Regions from separate parts of the Homo sapiens genome. Here region 1 is linked to region 2. The links are contacts of gene promoters, found by promoter capture Hi-C in blood cells and fetal thymus (Javierre and others, 2016). All regions are on one chromosome and are shown on one strand. The core of a region is centred on a gene start or on the middle of the fragment in contact, and the rest is flanking DNA. Distances in the headings are between cores, read along the strand shown. Region 1 holds the start of THAP1 (THAP domain containing 1). Region 2 holds the start of CCDC25 (coiled-coil domain containing 25).

Region 1 (6,632 bases), core at 779-3,278, about 15 Mb before region 2:
TATGGGTGACAAAAAAAATCCAAGATGACTCCAAGGTTTCTGGTTTAGACAACTGTTGAACAGATAATTCACAGATGATAATTCACAGATGATAATCCCAAAGGCAGAACGGATATACAAAGGAAATAAAAGATGAGAGAATTATGGTATTTGGTTCAGTTTAAGGAGCAGGGTGTTTAGGAGTTAGAGGAGGGCAGAAGATGGAACCCTGGGGAAACAGCAACATTTAAAAGGGCAGGAAAGGTAGAGAATAAGGGCCAAGGGATTACTCAACAGTCCGCTCTCCAGGTCTGCCTGGCTCAGATCTATATAAAGAAAAGGAGCAGGGAATGAAGTAAAACTGTTACAGGAAAGGGGTCCCAATCCAGACCCCAAGACAGGGTTCTTGGATCTCACGCAAGACAGAATTCAGGGCAAGTCCACAGTACAAAGCAAAAGCAAGTTTATTAAGAACGTAAAGTGGTGAAAGTACAGCTACTCCACAGACAGAGTAGGGCATTCCCGAAAGTAAGAGGAGGAACGCGTCCACCCTAAGTACAACACTTAGTTTATATATAGGATAAAAAAAGATCATGGGGAGATGTGCTTTGCTACAAGGGTTTGTGATAAAGGATTAATTACTATATTATGTAAGAATCGATATTATCTTTATTTATGAGACAGAGTCTTACTCTGTCGCCCAGGCTGGAGTGCAGTGGTGCAAGCACGGCTCACTGCAACCCCCGCCTCCCGGATTCAAGCGATTATCCTGCCTCAGCCTCCAGAGTAGCTGAAATTCGAGGGCATGTGCCACCACACCCGGTTAATTTTTGTATTTTTAGTAGAGACGTTTTCACCATGTTGACCAGGCTAGTCTTGAACTCCTGACCTCAAGTGATCCGCCCGCCTCGGCCTTCCAAAGTGCTGGGATTACAGGCGTGAGGCACTGTGCCCAGCCCAATATTATTATCTTTAAAGCAAAATTAGGAATGCTTCTGTTCTCAAAATATCGGGATATCTGGACACTTGGTAGTCTGGGTCTGTGTAGTAAACATTATCAATCTGTTGCCTTAATGGTATACACATCTAGAGGCTAGGAATACCTAACTTCCCGGGAATGCAGCCCAGCAAGTCCCAGCCTCATTTTCCTAGCCCTCACTCAACACAGAGTCGCTCTAGTTCGAACCCCTCTAACATATTCTCTCTCAGGTGTGAAAATTGCTGCAGCAGTTCGCTATTTGCAACACAGCACATGGAAATCACAGCAATGGAGAGCCTTCAGAAAAGCTTCTGGGGAGGGACAGCCTGGTGGCTCAACTCCTGTAATCCCAACCCATGGGGAGGTCGAGATGGGAGGATCCCTTGAGCTCGAGTTCCAGACTGACCTGGGCAACGTGGGGAGACAACGCCTCTATTTATTTAAAAAATTACATATATATATATATATATACATACACACACACATATATACATACACACATATATACATACATATACATACATATATATAAAACGCTTCTGCGTTGGCAATTGAGATGATTTGGCGAGTGTGTCTTTTTTCATTGCTAAAAATCTGTCACGTTGGCTCTCACAGAAACTTGTGATACCTGAAGACACAGGTAATGGGATAAAGATTAGCACTCTGGGAAAAGGTTCCACAATTTTATTAATCATACACCATCTGTGTCCGCCCTTTTAAAGAAATGGGCGCAATCAGCCAACGACCTCGGCTTTACACCTGTTCTCCAAGAGGCCCTAGTTGTTCCCTACTGTAAGCTGCCCCAGAAAAGGTCCGCATCAATTAACCCACGGGAACAGCCCGGGGCTGGAGGATGCCCCAGGAATCCGGCCTCCCGCCGCGCCTCCTCCCCCCACAAGCAGTTCCTTCCTGCCTGCCGGAAGCTCAGGGCTCCGCCCACTTCGGCAACTCTGAAGCCACCGCCGGAAACACCTGGCCTCAGCCAATAGTTAGCTTCCCAGGAAACGTTACCTCTGACCTCGGGGCTAATCAGAGACAGTGGGACGCACCCCTCGCGAGAGGTGAGGTTGAAGCTGCCTCCGCCATCTTGGAGATGGGAGACGGGCGATGGCTGTGGTCCTTCTGCTAATGCAAACAACAAAACGGGCACACTAGTCACCCCCGAGGGAGGCCACCATCACTGTAACTGTTGGCCAAAGCTACAAAAGAAGCGAGGGAATCCAACCGAGCGCAGCGACACTGAGAACAGCTTCCCCTGCCTTCTGCGGCGGCAGAAGTGAAGTGCCTGAGGACCGGAAGGATGGTGCAGTCCTGCTCCGCCTACGGCTGCAAGAACCGCTACGACAAGGACAAGCCCGTTTCTTTCCACAAGTGAGGACCCTGCGCGCCTCGCGGGGCCGGTCTCAGCCGGGGTGGGGGCGCGCGGCCGGCGGGGCCGGGGGCGGAGCCAGGCGCGTGTCCGCGCGAGGGGCGGGTGGGGTCTGGGGCCGGCCGTGTCGGGCGTTTCCCACCGCGTCCCGCTGGGAACCGCCGCCCGATCGCGCGTTCTCGGCGCGCGTCGCCGCGGCAGCCGTTTCTCGCGCTCCTGGAACAGGCCCTGGTTGCAGGCTTCGCTCACGGCCTGGGTTGACGCGTTCGGAGCCCACGGGCGATGCCTAGGGTGGCGCGGGTTTTGCCACCACCAGGGTCACAGAGCAGCCAGGTGTTTTAATATGGTCTTAGGGGTAAATTTAAAATAGAAACAAAGGCCTTTAAACGAAGAAATCACTACTTTTCGCCCTTGCCGTGGATGGGAGGCCAGCATCGTAGCAATTAAGGGTTTTTTGGCTGGGAAATCAGGGAGAATTTTTGCCCCCAATCTCTAGGAACTAAGCTTTAAGGACCCTGTATTTTGGAGAAAGCTTCAGGTACTGCCGAGATAAATCGTTATCTTTTCAGCACACAATAATGATAATATGGACAGTTACAACATGGATCATAATAAAATGACTCACACGGATCTTTATTTATTATGGCATTACCTGTGCATAGAGAAAGCTCTTTCGAAAGAAACTGCCCCACAGCTTTCAGAGCTGTCTTATCCAGTAGGTAGCACAGTTAAGTGATAGGATCAAAAATATTCTCTTGAAAATAGGAAAAAAGTGCAGAGTTGTAATTACTTATGATAAACGCTTGTAAAATGTGACATAACATTTTCATTCAGCTGAATTTGTTTACAAATTTTAATTACATTTATGTTAAGTTTTCTTTGCAAGAATTCCTGACAGCTATACGCAGATGATAGGTAAGAAATCAGATCCAGGGGTAAACTATACAGATTAGCCATAGGTAATTAGCTAATTATCTTTTATAATTAGGTAAATAATTACAAAAGCAAAATGTTAAATATCTTTTCAGTTAATTTATTTTTTTGCTGTGGGGCCATCTGTGTTTACTAGGGGAGTGTCCATGCATTTTTTAAATATGTTTGATATCATGTGAGATGGACCCTATAGAAATAAGAGTGTGTAGAACATAGAGAGGTCTCCAGAGTAATAATGTTACCCCTTGGAGAAGGGGATAGAACACTTAGAGGATTCAGTTCAGGATATCCTAATATTATCTCTTGATTTAATTGGAATTTCTGTAAACATGTTCTTTCTAAATGTAGGGAAAGGTCAGGTGATGGTAACAGGATTACATGCCCAGCTCCCCACCCACATTTCTGATGGCTTGGCAGAAGGAATCTAAAATTATGGAAAATGTTTCATTGGCACTGGAAACTAGTTTAAAGAGGGTATTCACACGTCGGAAATAACTGTTTTTGTCGAGGCACGATGGCTCATGCCTGTAATTCCCAGCACTTGGGGAGGCCAAGGTGGGCGGATCACCTGACGTCAGGAGTTCGAGACCAGCCTGGCCAACATGGCAAAATCCCGTCTCTACTAAAAATACAAAATACAGGCGTACGCCTGTAATCTTAGCTACTTGGGAGGCTGAGGTAGGGGAATCACTTGAACCTGGGATATGGAGGTTGCAGTGAGCTGAGATCTTGCCCTGCACTCCAGCTTGGGTAACAGAGTGAGACTCCATCTCAAAAAAAAAAAAAAAAAAAAAAAAAGATACAACTGTTTCTGCTAGATGTTAAGCAGATATGGATTGAATCAAAAGAAGGGCTAACCTGCATCTTATCCCTTATCTAAAATAGCAGGTTTAGGGAGAGTAGATGGGAAAGATCTTAAGAGAATCTCACAAACAGCTGTAAATTTGTTGTCCTTGAGCCAGGAGGCCCTAGGTACTGAATTTTACCAGCAAATGCTACCATAGTTTATACTTACAGAGCCAGGAGGCCATAGGTACTGAATTTTACCAGCAAATGCTACCCTAGTTTATACTTATAGAGGCCGTTCCAGTTGAGATTTTCTTTCTTTTTTTTTTTTTTTTTTTTTTGAGATGGAGTCTTGCTCTGTCACCAGGCTAGAGTGCAGTGGCACGATCTCAGCTCAGTGCAACCTCTGCCTCCCGAGTTCAAGTGATTCTCCTGCCTCAGCCTCCCAAGTAGCTGGGACTACAGGTGTGCACCACCACGCCCAGCTAATTTTTGTATTTTTAGTAGAGACAGGGTTTCACCATGTTGGCCAGGATGGTCTCCATACTTCGACCTCCTGATCCGCCCTCCTCAGCCTCCCAAAGTGCTGGGATTACAGGCCTGATTACAGGCCATGCCCAGCCCCAGCTGAGATTTTCTAGGAGTACCACTTCTCCCACCCTCTACATAGTGGCAGCGGAGAGTGCTATGTCGTACAAAGAAAAGGGACTGTCATAAAGATCTCTTACTAGCAGAGTCAGGCTCTAGCATATCGTACATGGAAGAGAGACTGTGAAACATAAATTTGAAATTCCCTTCCCTTTTTCTTTCTAATCCCCCCAGTTTACCAAATTCTTAACTTGGAAGAGTAAAATTACCACAATAAATGTAAACTCTCACTATCCCCGTTTACCTGGGCCTAATGGACATCCCAGTTGATTAGAAAATAAATTCTTTCGTTATTATCTGCCTTTAATTCAAATTTAGCCTATTCATATTTGTCAGACTGATGCTAAGAGAACTAGAAGCCCCTTTTTCCCAGTACGCAGATACAAATGTGCAATCTTTGTCTCTCTGTGCAGCACACAGAAAATTACTGGTAAAAAATATGAATACAGGTTATTTTTTTCTTTTTGAGACGGTATGGCTCTGTCACCCAGGCTGGAGTGCAGTGGAATGATCTCAGCTCACCGCAGCCTTGACCTCCCAGGCTCGAGCAGTCCTTCCACCTCAGTCTCAGCCTCCTGAGTACCTGGGCACATACCACCATGCCCAGCTAATTTTTGTGTCTTTTGTAGAGACAGGGTTTTGCCGTGTTGCCCAGGCTAGTCTCGAACTCTTGGACTTAAGTAGTCCCTCGGACAGTGGCCTCCCAAGTGCTGGGATTACAGGCATGAGCCGTGGGCACATTTACTCTATAGTATGTATTTTACCTGAATCTTTTGGTGAACTCAGTATAAAAAGTTAAACGTTAATGAATGAGGGCCAGGCACAGTGGCTCACGCATGTAATTCGAGCACTTTGGGAGGCCAAGGCGGGCAGATCACAAGGTCAAGAAATCGAATCCATCCTGGCCAACATGGTGAAAGCCCATCTCTACTAAAAGTACAAAACTTAGCTGGGCGTGGTGGCGCACGCCTGAGTCCCAGCTACTTGGGAGGCTGAGGCAGGAGAATCGCTTGAACCTGGGAGGCGGAGACGCAGTGAGCCGAGATTGCACCACTGCACTCCAGCCTAACAACAGAGCAAGACGGCATCTCAAAAAAATTTTTAAAAAATTAATAAATGAGATAAATAGATAACTAGAGCTAATCTTTAATCCAATAGGATAATACAATTGTAACATCTTTAATACCAATGTAAGATATTTCCTAAGCTGGAAAGTTTGGGTGCCTTTATTTATTTAAAAAATCAGGACAGATAATTGAATTATGCCTTCTTCTTAGGTTTCCTCTTACTCGACCCAGTCTTTGTAAAGAATGGGAGGCAGCTGTCAGAAGAAAAAACTTTAAACCCACCAAGTATAGCAGTATTTGTTCAGAGCACTTTACTCCAGACTGCTTTAAGAGAGAGTGCAACAACAAGTTACTGAAAGAGAATGCTGTGCCCACAATATTTCTTTGTACTGAGCCACATGACAAGGTAATATGCATTTTAAAATATTGGGTTGCTTTTTGTTTATCAAACTGATGTGTTCATTGATTAAAATGTGGAAAATTGAGTTAGTGTTAAGAGAATAAATGTGCCTGGAACCTTGTAGTTAACAGTGATACACTTCTGAAAACACAAAATGCAGTTTATTAAAGATAAATATCCTCACACTAAGAAACTTAGTCCAGCTTTGTAACTTAGTTAAAAACCACTCTGTACTGCCAGTTATATATTGATAAGTTTTGGGTTTTCTTTATCAGTGACAGTTTAGTTTCAAAGCATTTTTTTCTCCTCAGTGCTTAATATTTAATTAGATCTGATGATTCATTTTGTCTCTTTCCTGCACCGTCCCTCTACTTCAGGTAGAAAAGTTTATTCAAACTGAAACTGTTTTCTCATTTTGGAATGTTTCTATACCACTGATTCCCAAAAAAAGTCAGTATTTCTTAAATTCCA
Region 2 (6,984 bases), core at 1,256-3,755:
TTCCCTTTTTATAAAAATCTCTTGAAGTCGTAAGGCTGCTGAAAACAAATGCTAGAATGCACGAGCAGGCGGCTACGTGGCTCGTCAGAATTCATTTCCTTCCCCTTCCCTGGGATCAGGGAAATTCCCCCCAAAGCAGCACACAAGCGTTATTTCAAAGCTATTAATGAATGAACAAACTGAAAGGCCAGGGTCTCTGGGAATTCAGGTCGAGCTGCGGCTTAAGGGGGGACCCCTCTGGGGCTAAGCGAGGAAAGGTAGGAGAGGAAAGCGTCCCGACCCTGAACCCGGTCAGGGAAACAAACAAACAAACAAACCCTAAACCCAAAACAAGGAAACGCCGGCGTCGGGAAGAGGGAAACCCGGCGCCTGTGAGCGCGGAGAACGAGTCAGTGGCTTCTTCGGTCTCGGGCCTGCGGACCTGCCGAGCGCCGAGCAAAAGCTCTTTCCCCGTGACATTCGCCCCCACGTTCCACAGGGTCTCCCGCTCGCCTCAGCCTTCCACAGCCCCCCGCCTCGGCCTACTCCAGAGGTTACCTGCGCCTCAGAGCCCGGCGAGCTCTCCTCAGCCTAGCCAGCCGCTCCGTGAGCGTCTTCAAATAATCGCGCGCCAGGCTAGGAGGAAGCCGCTGCGTTCCGATTGGCCACGGCTCAGCGCTTCCAGGGGCTGGCTCGGTGATTGGTGGAGCACCAGCCCTTGCCCCGCCCACCCTGGTGGCTGTTTCCAAGATTCTCGCGCCCTGGTGAGGTGAAAAATCTCTGAGGGAAACCACGCCACCCACAATCCCCTGCAGCAACGCCGGACTCCGTTCCCGGGGCCTTGTTTAGGTGCATTCTGGGAATTGTAGTTCTCGGTCCAGTTGAAGTTGAGATACATTCTGGGGTCACGGGGTAAGAAATTTTTGTAAAATGGCCTCTCCAGCCTGGCGACAGAGCAAGACTCCGTCTCAAAAATAAATAAATAAATAAATAAATAAAGGCCTCTCCAAGATTCTCGATGCACTTATTTTTCACATTTGAAGCTTCATTGTCAGTTTCACTTTTTTTATTAGTAACTTTAGGTTTCTATTTATTTTTCAAATTAAAATATAAAACTTAACACCTGCTATGTGCCAGGCATTCTTAGATGCTTTACATGTTTTGTTTCATTTACTTCTTACCACAATCTGTAAGGCATTAATATCTATTGCCATTCCCATTTTACAAATAATACAACGGAGAACCCAAAACAATTGCTATTTACAGAACAGAGCTAAATTCTTACTTTGGAAAACCAGAAAGTTCCTAAAACGGTTATTGTTAGCTATTGTTACTATCTTTGTGTCACCAGCTCCTGGTACAGTGTTTCTGGCACATTTTTAGTTTCAAATAAGTTTAGAGTTTTATGTTTATTTTTTCAAATTTAATTTTCACAAATTTGTATGTCATCCTTGAGCAGGGGCCATGTTAAAGTTCTCTGTATCATTCCAATTTTAGTATACATGCTGTCAAAGCAAGCATGTAAATAAATTTCGTTAAGTGACGCCCTCAATTTCATAGAATGAAGTCAGTGACAGTGATGTAAGAGTGTCAGTTTAAAAGGAAAAGGCTGAGGCAAAAAAAAAAAGAATGTAGAGTTTGCTTGAGTTAAAGCGGGGACAGCTGCCCAGAAGATTCCAACCCCCCTCCCCCCACCGCCCTCCACCAGCAGGCTTGGATATGAGCTCTGTCTGGCCTTTGCTACAAGCAGGTTTTTAAAGACGAAGAAGGGGGGCAGGAAGTGGGCTGATACACAACTGTCAAGCATTCTCATTGATGTATAGAAACTACAAGCATCAGTGATTGGCTAGACATTGTTAAACTATAGGGTGTGGGTCATGTCATAGTGTCTTGTGTGGCAGTGTTAGGTTAGTAGGTAGCTACCTGTGGCAGAAGCAGGTAGTTTCAGTAGATGAATACATAGCTCAAGGGGGTGGTAGAACATGATGGGGTCTTATCTTAATGCCTCTCCAGACCTAGTAATTTAAAGGGACTCACATTCCTCAGATAAAAGTGCTTTCTCAAGAGAAATAATCAGGGCAAAGCCAAGTGCTGTAGGAGCTTTACATGAATATGATTATTCCTACTTTATAGCAGGAGGACCTCTGAGGTTCAGAGGTTTGGGATGGCAGGCCTTCGATTTAAGCCAGAACAAAGTCCAATCCCCAAGAGGCATATTGTCCTGGTGAGTATCAGAAACAACTCGTTTGTGTGCTATGTTCTAAACCCTTGGCGCCCATTAACTTATTTAACCCTAAAAAATATCCTGTGAGTTAGCTGCTCTAGTATCATCTTCATTTCGCTGCTGAGGAAAGTGAAGCACAGACAGGTTAACTAACGTGCCCAAGATGCCCAGCCTCTTTCCCTTAACCCACAAATCACTGAACCAAACTCCTTGCCACTACACTTCGCCTCGCCAGGATTAAAAATGGCGCCCACGGCCGGCGTTATGACGCGCCCCGACGTCCGCCGGAAGTGCACGGAGGAGTTCCGGGGGCCAGGCGGCCGCCGCGAGTCTGGTATCCTGAGCTTCGTGAGTTGAGCGCTGCTGCTCCGCGGTGGAGTCACCGCACCGCTCCCGGGATCATGGTGTTCTACTTCACCAGCAGCAGCGGTGAGTGGGCGCCACGTCCTCCTGGACCCTGCTGGACAGCGGGCTCCGAAGCCGGGACCCGCAGTCCGCCGCTGCGCCTGACCCTCGCTCTAAAATGCCTTCTGGATGCGAGTGCCTCTTCCCGCGGCCTCTCGGTCCCCCAGCACATCCGTCCCTCCCACGGCTGCAGGATTTCCCCCGGCGTCCCCTCGTCATGGCGTGGGGGGCGCGGAGGGGCGATGCCACTGCTATGTTTGTATCGGGGAGTTCTCGTCCCCTAATCGGAAAGACGTCCCGTCACTCCCTGGGATTGGGCAGAGCCTGTGGGCTCCTCCACACACCTTATCCCAAGTCTTCTTCCCACCTTCCATCTGCGGCCTTTGTTCTGGCTGAACCCTTGTAATTATCCCCTGTGAGAAAGGAGACACCTGCTAACAACTTTTTCTTAAGGGAAGCGCGACTTACCCTTTCAGGAAGGGGTTGTAGGGTCTGGGATGCAACAGAAAACAATAAAAAGACCCTGGGATGTCCACCCAGCCACTCTCCGGGCAGTTGATGTCCCAGATCTCAGAAGTGACCTATGGTAATGCTTCTGACTTATCTTTGACAGATAAGGAAAGGGTGCCCTTCGTTCCCAGGAAATGCAGTGTCCCGACTTGGTTTCGTTCTGTTCCTGTTATTCCCCTTTCCTAAAATCAACCCCCAGCTAATTCCCTTAAGACAGTTTTGGCCCATCTTTTCCAAGATGCCTTTCCTGATGCTAGCTCCTACCCCAAGATTGCTTAGCTATTCCTTTCCTGGGACCCACTTAACGTTCCAAGTATGCCTTTGGCATTGCACTTATCACGTGGTATTAAATGGTGTCTGCTTGAGCTAGAGTGTAAGTCCCTTGAGGGCGTGGACAGGATCTCTTTACAGTAGTCCCTACTTGTCCTGTATTTCGCTTTCCGTGGTCACATCATCACAAGAAGAAAAGGAGTGAGTACAGTACAATAAGGTTTTGAGAGAGAGAGAGAGCAGAGTCACCTAACTTTTATTACAGTACGTTGTTATAATCGTTCTATTTTATTATTAGTTATTGTCAATAATCTCTTACTCCACCGAACTGATACATTAACTTTATCATAGGTATACATATATAGGGAATACCAGTAGCCATGCGTCCCTTAATGACAAGAATACATTCTGAGAAATGCTCCATTAGGCGGTTTCATTGTTGTAGCAACACGGTAGAGTATACTTAAACCTGTGGTATAGCCTACCACAAATGTAGGCTGTACAGTATACCGTTGCTCCTAGGGTACAAACTTGTACAGCACGTTGCTGTACTGAATGGCTGTAGGCAATGGTAACGCAATGGTGTTTGTGTATTTAAACGGGTCTCAACGTAGAAAAAGTGAGTTGCACCACGCTGTTATGATGGCTACCAGGTCATCAGGCAATAGTGATCAGAATTTTTCAGCTTCGTTATAATGTTATGGGACCACCATAGTATGTGTGGTTTGTTGCTGACCAAAGCATCATTATGTGGCAAGTCCCTTTATATATGGAATTCAGTGTTGTCCTCGGTTTCAGGCATCTGCTGGAGATCTTGGAAGACATCCCCCACAGATAAGGGGGGACTACTGTACTTGTTTCCCTAACGTAGTGACTGGTTAGTAGTTCTCAATAAATGCTTGTTGAATAAATGAATGCCATTTTTTTACTTACTTATAGCACTTTCTATTCTATTGCTACTCTATATGCTTGTTAAAGGTGAGTTTTTTGTTTTTGTTTTTGTTTTTTTTTTTTTTGGAGACGGAGTTTTGCTCTTGTTGCCCAGGCTGGAGTGCAATGGCACGATCTCGGCTCACTGCAACCTCTGCCTCCCGGGTTCAAGCGATTCTGCTGCCTCAGCCTCCTGTGTAGCTGGGATTACAGGAATGCGCCACCAAGCCTGGCTAATTTTGTATTTTTTTAGTAGAGACGGGGTTTCTCCATGTTGGTCAGGCTGGTCTTGAACTCCCGACCTCAGGTGATCTGCCTGCCTCAGCCTCCCAAAGTGCTGGGATTACCAGCATGAGCCACTGCGCCCGGTCTAAAGGTGAGATTTATTTTATTTATTTTTGAGACGGAGTCTTGCTTTGTCACCCAGGCTAGAGTGCAGTGGCACGATCTCAGCTTACTGCAACCTCCATCTCCTGGGTTCAAGCGATTCTGGTACAGCTAGGATTACAGGGACCAGCCAACATGCCTGGCTGATTTTTGTATTTTTAGTAAAGATGGGGTTTCATCATGTTGCTCAGGCTGGTCTTGAACTCCTGAGCTCAAGTGATCTACCCACCTTAACCTCCCAAAGTGCTGGAATTACAAAAGGTGAGTTTTTGTTTTGTTTTGTTTTTTGTTTTTTTGAGATGGAGTCTCCCTCTGTCACTCGGGCTAGAGTACGGTGGTGTGATCTCAGTTCACTGCAACCTCTACCTCCTGGGTTCAAGCAATTCTACTGCCTCAGTCTCCCAAGTAGCTGGGATTACAGGCACACGCCACCATGCGTGGCTAATTTTTGTATTTTGTTAGTAGAAACGGGGTTTCACCATATTGGCCAGGCTAGTCTCGAACTCCTTACCTCAAGTGATCCACCCGCCTCGGCCTTCCAAAGTGCTAGGATTAAAGGCGTGAATCACCACGCTCAGCCAAAAGGTAAGATTTAAGTGAAACTAGTTCCACATTGTTTGTGTGGGTTTGAATAAGGCAATACTTTCTCTTTAGAAGTAAGATTGAGGCTCAGGGAAGTTGTAACTCACAGACCCTACTCTTCCACCTTCATCACACTGACATCTCCTTATTTTTCTCAGTAGTTTAGCCTTCCACAGTGTGTGCCATGAGCTATTTCTCTGTCTCTGTACATGTGGTTTGTTTTACCCATATTATTAAAATTACTAGAAACAAAATTCAAAACCAGCCTGAAAAATCATATACCCTTATAGGCCTCTAAGCATTTTCGTCCTTGGCAACTCAGGCATCTCTTTATAACTTCTCCAGTTGTGAATCTTCAACAACATAGATATCCATATAAACCCAACAATGGAAAAACAAATATACAGGCAGGGTGTATAGGTACTGAATGTATTTTGTGCTGTTCTATTCCCCTTAAAGTTACTCTGAATTCTTTAAGTGTTAGTCACACATACACATCTGCCCTTAATAGAGCAAAATGCTTCACTAGATTTGTGGGTCCTGTTTTTTTTTCATTGACTTCCATTATAATGTCAGAACTGTTTCCTGTTAGAAAAATATTTGGCCTCTAAGCCTAATAAAAGTGCACTTGTGCAGCTGATCTTTTAAAACTGCAAAGTTAATGGAAAAATCATAACTTTCTCAGTAAAATAGTAATGAGACTTTACATATTGGCAGTATAGAAACAACAAATATATAGAATCTTCAGGAAATGAATTTGTATGGCTTGCCAAGTTTTTAACTAACTGATGGTTTTTACTGCATAAAAACTTTTTTAAAATGGGAAGAAAATCTTCATAGGAAGTTGTTCTTTTACATTTTAAGATTAATATCTGACTAAAATGTGTTCCATTTTCATTCTTTCATGCTGTCTCATAAGGGAATAATTGAACATTAGTCTAATAAGTCCAGTGTCACATTTAAGACCATCTGATTATAGATACTTGGCTCAAAGTCCACTTGTACTTTTAATACCTGTTAATATCATCTGCCTAAAAGTAGATTGTTCTATAAATTGTGAAATAATCAGATCACCTCTGAAGTTGGGTTGGTTGCTACCCGTAAGTCAAGTGTCTTCCAAATAACCGGTTCCAGTACTAATCAACCATATTATTTAGATGAGAATAACAAATGAACTAGAATAATTCAGTTTACTTTTCCTTCTTAACATGGAAAGGAACTTAATTCAGACTTGTTGTGCAGCAATGATGTTCCTTTTTATTTTTCATTTTCTTTTCTTTTTTTTTTTTTTTTGAGATGGAGTCTTGCTCTGTCTCCCAGGCTGGAGTGCAGTGGCATGATCTCGACTCACTGCGACTTCTGCCTCCTAGGTTCAAGCGATTCTCTTGCCTCAGCCTCCTTAGTAGCTGGGATTACAGGCATGTGCTACTACGGCTGACTAATTTTTGAATTTTTAGTGGAGACAGGGTTTCGCCATATTGGCCAGGCTGGTCTTGAACTCCTGGCCTCAAGTGATCCTCCCGCTTCAGCCTCCCAAAGTGTTGGGATTACATGCATGAGCCACTGCGCCCAGACTAATTTTCTATTATGACATAATTTCAGTCTTTCAGAGAAGTTGCAAGTATAGTAAAAGATTTCCTGTATATTCTCCCAGAGTCCCCCAATTTTTTTTGAGACAGTCTTGCTCTGTCACCCAG

Evidence for each region. Contacts are between HindIII fragments. The CHiCAGO score rates a contact against its expected background, and 5 or more counts as called.
Region 1: a contact is called between the fragment with the promoter of THAP1 here and the fragment with the promoter of CCDC25 in region 2, in 1 of 17 cell types (total CD8 T cells). The highest score is 6.3, in total CD8 T cells.

Annotation. Positions count from the first base shown.
Region 1 is chr8:42,838,721-42,845,352 of GRCh38, reverse strand. THAP1 (THAP domain containing 1) reads left to right here and starts at 2,028. Exons shown (of 3, transcript NM_018105.3): 1 at 2,028-2,329; 2 at 5,972-6,167. The coding sequence starts at 2,259. It overlaps LOC124901940 (a long non-coding RNA gene), which reads right to left and starts at 2,419. Exons shown (of 2, transcript XR_007060901.1): 1 at 1,970-2,419; 2 at 1-1,586. RefSeq lists enhancers at 1,950-2,309, 1,645-2,435 and a silencer at 2,340-2,429. The HindIII fragment of the contact is 1,565 bases long and covers 1,269-2,833 here.
Region 2 is chr8:27,768,161-27,775,144 of GRCh38, reverse strand. It overlaps CCDC25 (coiled-coil domain containing 25), which reads left to right and starts at 2,505. Exons shown (of 9, transcript NM_018246.3): 1 at 2,505-2,632. The coding sequence starts at 2,605. ESCO2 (establishment of sister chromatid cohesion N-acetyltransferase 2) reads right to left here and starts at 591. Exons shown (of 11, transcript NM_001017420.3): 1 at 538-591. It also overlaps the pseudogene RNU6-1276P. RefSeq lists a silencer at 534-703 and enhancers at 814-963, 2,512-2,821. The HindIII fragment of the contact is 7,740 bases long and covers 1,025-6,984 here.